2 separate regions of the Homo sapiens genome follow, and region 2 is linked to region 1. Evidence: promoter capture Hi-C in 16 types of primary human blood cells and fetal thymus (Javierre and others, 2016). All regions are on one chromosome and are shown on one strand. Each heading gives the region's core, a stretch centred on a gene start or on the middle of the fragment in contact. The rest is flanking DNA. Distances are from core to core; before and after follow the strand shown.

Region 1 (3,810 bases), core at 628-3,127:
GAAGACTTACCATCACCAAAACATGGAAGCACTTACTTCTTTAGTTTCAAAGCAAGTACATCCACGTTTAAGTGGTGGGGAGCCCAGTCTTGGAAAAAGTTAGAATCCTTTAACCTGTAACAAGCTTAGTAACCTTAAAACACAATAACAAAAAAATTTTGTAACAAAAGGTGTGCTGGCTTGGAGACACCTCCACTGAAACATGGAAGCACTTACTTTTGTTTCACACAGCAGGTACCCCCATGTTAAAGCAAAGGGGATCCCTTCAAATGAGGTTAGCGTGTTCTATTTTGGAGAAGTAAATTGGATTCACTCCTACTAAAACATGGAAGCACTTACTTTTAAAGTCACAGAAAGCACTTCCATGTTAAAGTTGAAGGGAGCCCACCCAACATACAACTTCTTTGGACTTCAGAGTATTTAGAGCTGAGGAGAAAGAAAACAAAATGGCATAACTTTAGAAGAAAAAAATTTTTTTACCTTCCTGAACTAGTTCCCAAAGATTCGTGTTCTCCTCCAGAAGGGTAAAAGGCAGGGACTTCAGCCACTTCTATTTATACTATTCTTAACTCTTGAATTCCTTTTGCCTTTTTATCTCAGAGAATCATTACAAGGGCCTTTTGTTATTTTAATGTATCAGCTCTCAGGGAATGTATGATCCTGGGTGGGTCTGGATCCTTTTTTTTTTTTTTGAAGTATACAGATGTCAATGTTAACAGCTAAAACCATTACCACAAGATATCTTCCTCTTAAAAAAAAAAAAGAAAAAGAAAAAGAAAATCTCCTATCTGCTTGTTTGATGGCATAGATTAGGGTAACAATGAGTGCTCCCACTGAGCCGAGAAAGGCATTGTGTTTCTATCTGGAGGAACTCTGTTTGAAGAAGCATCTACATGTTAAATGTATGTAAATAAATAGATTGCTTCCACGGGGTGTTTTGTTCTACTTAGAAATTCTTTTTGATTCAAGTAAATACTAAGGAATGTTATCTCTCAAATTGGAAGCAGTTTAACAAATCTTTAATCTCGCCCTTTTCCCACAGAGATGACTGATTTAGTAAATGTTACTAGTTAAGGAATTAATGCTAAAATTTTACTTTTATAAATTAAAATACTTCAGACACTCAAAAATTTAATTGGCAATCTTAAAACATTTAATCTGAATATTGGGGGAAGAGGAACTCCCTTAGCTTATTTTGCTAAATGTCTTTAGAACCTAGGAAATATTTTGAATATGTGTTTAAAGAAACAGGAAAGTTGGTGGAGGAGTTGCTCCAAGTCATTGTGAATGTATATATTTAGATATTTCCCTATTTACTTTTTATATTTAGTCATCTGTTATCACCATTTCTTTCCTTGTAGGAGCGAATGGATGGATTTGAAAAAAGAGTATTTAGCGCTACAAAAAGCTAGCATGGCTTCTTTAAAAAAAACAATATCCCAAATAAAATCAGAGTCAGAAATGGAAACAGACAGTGGAGTACCTCAAAACACTGGAATGAAAAATGAAAAAAGTAAAGATCACTGATAGTTTTGACAACATTATAATGTACTTATATATGTAAATGCTATCTCTGAGTTGTTATAAGATAAATTTTAATTTTAAAAAACTTGATTATTCTATTTCATTATTAGAACAATTCTTGATTTGTTAAGTTATCCAGATGTGTTACTTACTCTTGATATAAGAATATTTAAAAGGCTCATTTAAAACAATTTTTTAAATAACCTGAGTTTTCTCTACAGTTTTCATCAAGCACATGAGTGCAGAGTTTGCAGACTGAGCAAGTTTGTAGGAATGAAGATTGTAGTTTCTCACCTGTTAATTTCATTCTGTAGTATGCACCACAAGCAGGAACAAGTTAAAGCAGAATTCCTATGAATTCAAAATTAGGATACATTTTAAATTCTCATTTCTTGTAAAAATAAATGTTCACGTTTGAATAATAATGTATTTAAAACACAGTATCCTTTAACTTTTTTTTAACTTTATTGAGTAAAAATTTACTGTTCCTTTGTTCAGGGAGAAGGGGCAAATTTAAAGGCTTTACGAATGCTCTTCTAGCAGTAACAATTTGCATGTAGAATAATAAAACTTTCTGAGTTTTATTCATGGTATTTTGAAATAAGCAGTATGACATATAACCTTTAATTGTTTACTTTAAAATTAAATACGTTTTAAATTATTTAAATCTGCCTCAGGAATTATTCTAAGGTAGTCCTCCTAAGTATTAAATTGTTGTTAAGTGTAAGAGATTTAGTCCTGGTCTTTTTCCTTTTCTAATCAGCAGCCAACAGGGAAGAGTGTCGCACCCAGGAGAAAGTTAATGCAACAGGACCACAGTTCGTGAGTGGAGTGATTGTGAAGATCATTAGCACAGAGCCTCTACCTGGCAGGAAACAAGTCCGGGTAATGATTTTGAGCCCCTAGGGTATTTGTTCCTTTCTTCTCTTATTATTTCCCTGTGTGAAAATGTTTTGAATATGGAAGATAAAACAAATCAAGTTAGAATTTGTTTCCCTATGGTAAACTACTGTACAGTTTTAATTCCATGGTAACTCTTAGGTTTAATTTTGAAGCAAAATCTAGAGGCTGAAATTCCTCACTAAATCTATATGTAAGCACAGTTTAAACATCCTTCTCTATAGGAAAATTGTAACTTTTGCTTATTTTTATTGGCACTGATTTTTTTTGTATTACCTATGTGCTGATTATCTTTAAAATTTTAATTATAGAAAAGTAAAATATTTTTGAAAACCTCTTAAAATTTTTCACGCATGTGCCAAAAAACCCATACTTCTATATAATTTACGCTACAAATTGCTGTACATACAGGTTTATAATTTTTTCGCTTTATACAGTCTATCTTCTGTAGCCTTTTATACCACATTGGTAGCAATACTTTCTATTAGGGAAATTATATACTTTTAGGTGAGAGTACCATATCTTATTTACCCTTACCCTGCCTGTCACCCATTTAAGTGAATCCTTTTCTTTTTAAAAAGTGTGAAATGCTCTGTAACATACCACATATTTTAAGTATTTTCTTATACTGACATTCATCATCACTTAGTATGTTGTTTTGGTTTTACGTAGACTCATCAGTCACAGGTTTTAACTTGAATACCATTGAGGTGGTGGTTTGTTTATCTGTAAGCCCTCCTTATCTGAAATACTGTCCTACAATCCTATAGCTGTCACTAAGAAACAAATTTTGATCCTCTTTGCAATGTTGGTGAAGGATTTGGCCAAATCCAAATTGCTATTACCAGCTTGCATTTCAGGAGACAGCTGAAAATTGAGGGATGTAAATACTGCTCTGATTAATCAGATTGCAAAACATTTAATACAAAAATTGCTCAGAGTTATTTCTAATCAACTCATTAAATAACTTCTGTTATTTAAAGGGTAACTTTATCAATTACAAATTCATCATTTATGATCATCAAAATCATAAAATCAATCCCTGCATTAATCCAGTTAGTAGTTACTTACATTTTGCTGAAACAAAAACTGAGCTGTGTTGGTTACAACTGTCTGTGACTTGCCCATGTGATTACCAGGCTAATTTGTCATTCTATGGGTTTTAAATTCTAAGGGTTTTAAATCAAGAGATTAGCCTGACATTATAATGGATATTTAGTATATATCTTTTGAGTTGTAGTAATTGAATATGCTCAAAAGTCAGTTATAAAACTCATTACTACTACTGAATGCATTCAAATTTCAACAATACTGAGTTTTTTACTTGCTTTATATCTAAATTTGGTACTAATTAACTAGGTAAAGAAGTGGGAAGGACTAGCAAGT
Region 2 (3,810 bases), core at 773-3,272, 210 kb before region 1:
CCTGGCGCCACATGAGACTCTTCTGGGGAGCTTTTAAAAACTTCCAATGCCTCACCCCAGAGATTTCCATCTAATGGGTCTGGAGTGCGGACCCAGGGATCATTATTTCTTATCACCTCTCTGGTGATTCTGCTTAAAGCCACTGTTAAGAGCTTCTGCTTCAAAGTATTCCAATGTTTTGCCTGCCACCTTGAAGTCCGACTAAAATACAAATCACATTGTTACCAAAAAAAAGCAAAAATTTCCAGCAATAGGGTTTTCTTACTAACTGTGAGATTCTGCAATTTTGGAATCACATTTATTACAATGAGGTAACTGCTTTCTTCTTATTTGTTATCGTTTGCTAATTTATGGATGAAATACATTAGAGGAAGCAAGGCCCAAAATGGCAGAAACAGAACAATGATTCCCTTCCTCTTTTCTTCTCTCAATTTATCACCCGTCCTGTGTGTGGACAGACAACTCACCTTCCATTTCCATCCGGCTTCTCTAACTGAGTCACCCAACCCTGGTCACCATCCCGCCCAGCCCACAGGCATCCCCTGCCCAGAACTGTCAGTTTATCTTGCTTTAAGTATTTTCTCTCCCACGTATCCCATTCATTTATCTATTTTCACAATCTAGACAAAAGTCTTTGTTCACTTCATTTTAATTTCAACCAAAGTGTTGCACTCCTTCCTTAGGATTCATGTGGGTGTTTCTCCTCAAAGAGATGCTTTCTTGCTTAGCACTGTTCTTCCTTTCTATAAGGTGGAGACTGCCCCTACTTTTTCCTCTTATGTTTTCCTTTTTTCAGTTGAGTTCGCATGTTTTTACAGCAGCTACATTTTCTCAAATAATTTCCAAACTTTCTCAACTTAAAACAATGAAGAGAAAATTAGGGTGCACTTGAATATATAATGCTAGGATTCCCAGAGCTGCCATCAGTAGTAGCTTCTGTTATTTGGGATCCCCAGGTAATAATAGTAAGTTGCAAGCATGTGTCACTTGTCCCAAAATGGTCTCTGGGGTTTTCTGATTTTAAAATTCCTTTATTTTCCACTACTTTCATATAGAATCTTCATGCTTATCTTAATCCCTTTTCATCACAACTAAGGGATTTTGTGACTCAAAGGCTATTCCTCATTGTAATTTATAAAGTGTTACTTTTTTATTATTTCTCACTAACTTTTTAATACTGTAGTTGTCATAGAAGAGATGAAAATTAGAGAAAAGTGTATAAAAAAGTGAAGATTTCAGGTGAGCTGGCGTAGGACCTGTGTCACATCAGCTTTATTCATGAATTGTAACGTCCTTTTGAAAATAAGATTCATTTTCATCTTTTTTTTTCCCAGGTGCTCTTTTGTTAAAATATTCAAAAAAATCTGAACTGTGGACGGCCCAGGAAACTATTGTCTATTTGGGGGACTACTTGACTGTGAAGAAAAAAGGCAGACAAAGAAATGCTTTTTGGGTTCATCATCTTCATCAAGAAGAAATTCTGGGGAGGTATTACTTAAAAACATTTGTATAACTAATGTAAGATGAGCTAACCTTGCTCTTCTGTTAAGTAATCACTCATGAGACTTCGTAGGGGCTGAAAAACTTGGCCAAAATATATTTCCAGATTTCTACTCCTTTTTCTTTTCATTATTAATTAATTAACAACAGTTACTATATATTGAGGACCCACGTTACATCAGCTGTTTTGCTGGATGTTTTAGCTACAGGACCTCAAAACCATCAGGGAAACATTGGCCATACTGTACTGATAAGAAAAATAAAGTTCCTGGCCACATGACAGGCCAGAGAGCCTTCAATATTCACTAAAAATGCTGGCAAAAAAAGGTAAATTATGAAAAGCACACTTTTAAGTAAATAGGTGAGCCTGAAAAAAGGCAGGAAAATCCTGAGTCCAGGGATGAAGCCTGTTCAGGGATATAAGTGATTGCTGAACCCTTTAGGGATCCCGCATAGGCGTTTGAGGCAGGGGTGGAGTGAGGGTGCAGCCCGTAGCAAAAGCTACACCCAGAAGGGAATGAGTTCAGATACCACTCATACAAGCAAAGACTCAGGAATGGCTACATCCCCACGATAAAGGGTATCTTTGAAAACCCCACCCCAGTGAAGTAAATGCCTGGAAAGTTTTTGCTTTGGCCTTAGTTCTTAATAAAAATTTTAAACAAAAACTCACCTGAAAAATTAGTAACCACAGGTGGTCTTCATTGGATTTAAGACATAATTTTTTATCATTTGTATATTTTAAAAGACCTATAAGCCATGACTTTTCATTTAAAGTTGGCCTTGTTATTTGCTCAAATCCAAATAGTGTAAGAAATAAATAGAAATAGAGAAATCAAGTGTCTCTGTAAGCAGTGGAAGTACATTTCTTGAAAAGATTATTGATTATTATTATTATTTTAGTAAACATATGCCAGGTCCTGTTTTAAATGATTTATATGCTAATTCAATTAATCTTCACAAAACCCTCTGAGGGTAGATACTATTATTATTCTCACTTTACAGATGAGGGAACTGAGTCACAGAGATGTTAAGGAATTGCCTGAAATCACATGTCTAAGCAGTAGGGGCATGTGCTGATGCTTCACTTGTGTCTCCCAAAACTCATATATTGAAGTTCTCAGTACTTCAGACTACGATCTTACTTGGAAGTAGAGGGATTGCAGATGTAATTGGTGAAGTTAAGATGAAGTCATACTGGAGTAGGGTGGGCCCCTGATCCAATATGACTGATATCCTTATGAAAAGAGGAAATTTGGAGATAGACAAAGACGCAGAGAGAATGCCATGTGAAGATTGTAGTTATGTTGCCTCATAGCAGAGAACTGCCAGAAGCTGGGAGACAGCCTGAAACAGATTCTTCCTTAGAGCCTTCAGCAGGATGATGGCCCCATTGGAACTTTGATCTTGGACTACTATAGGCTTCAGAACTGTGAGAAAATCAATTTCTGTTATTTACGCCACCCAGTTTATGGCATGTTGTGACAGCAGCCCTGATACACCAGAGTATACCATAGGAGGACCTGAGATGAGAATAAATTGAGAATAAGAGACATAGAGAATGGAGTGGCAGAGTTCAATATATTTCTGATCAGAAGAAAATAACAGCAAGAGAGCAAAAACAATATTTGAATAGATACTTTCTGGTAATTTTTCAGAATTGCCAAAATACACTAATCTTGAAATACAGAAATCACAGTGAATCCTAAGGACAGAAGGGAAAGGAGGAAAGAAGCTGGAAGGCAGGTAGTCAGACATCCTGTGTACCTAGTTTGACTAGGTACACAGTAGTCAAACTCCAAACACTAAGGACAAAGAAACCATTTTAAAAGCAGTCAAAGAAAATAGACAGATTACGTACATAGAAATGTCAATTTGACCTACAGCTGGTTTCTTCATAGCAACAATGGAATTCAGAGACAATGGAAGTCATATACTTAGTGCAACTCTCTTTTATGGAGGAAGACAAAATAAAGACATTTGCAGCTTAAAAGGAAAAATGACCATGGCAGTTTACCATGAACAAATCCTCACTAAAGAAAAATGATCCCAGAAAAAAAATGGTACAAGATGAGAGAAGATATGGACTTCTGTTCTCAGATTGATGATCCCCTGCCTAAGACTGGAGGTCTTCTGGCAGAATGTTCAGGAAATGCTCCAGTAGCCAGTACTCACAGGTTCACTCTCTTGTGCACACCTCTGGTATCAGTCAACAAAATTCTGAATTAGTTCAAACCCTCTATAGGTCTTGCGGTCTCTCCATAGAAGAACTGCCTAAAGCACTGGTATGGCATCCCTATTACAACAACT

Evidence for each region. The method cuts DNA at HindIII sites, captures the fragments that hold promoters and counts their contacts. A CHiCAGO score of 5 or more calls a contact.
Region 2: a fragment that was not itself captured here is called in contact with the fragment with the promoter of MIR302CHG in region 1 in 1 of 17 cell types (neutrophils); the score reaches 6.7 in neutrophils.

What each region holds. Positions count from the first base shown.
Region 1 is chr4:112,648,174-112,651,983 of GRCh38, forward strand. It overlaps MIR302CHG (miR-302/367 cluster host gene), which reads right to left and starts at 1,878. Exons shown (of 3, transcript NR_146092.1): 1 at 1,819-1,878; 2 at 340-426. It overlaps LARP7 (La ribonucleoprotein 7, transcriptional regulator), which reads left to right. Exons shown (of 13, transcript NM_016648.4): 9 at 1,362-1,513; 10 at 2,288-2,409. MIR302A (microRNA 302a) reads right to left here and starts at 78; the gene lies at 10-78. MIR302C (microRNA 302c) reads right to left here and starts at 257; the gene lies at 190-257. It also overlaps MIR302B. RefSeq lists an enhancer at 698-1,420. The HindIII fragment of the contact is 6,288 bases long and covers 123-3,810 here.
Region 2 is chr4:112,433,814-112,437,623 of GRCh38, forward strand. It overlaps ALPK1 (alpha kinase 1), which reads left to right. Exons shown (of 16, transcript NM_025144.4): 12 at 1,335-1,488. Among named protein-coding and RNA genes, the nearest start is that of NEUROG2-AS1, 80 kb to the right of the region's middle. The HindIII fragment of the contact is 6,124 bases long and covers 1-3,810 here.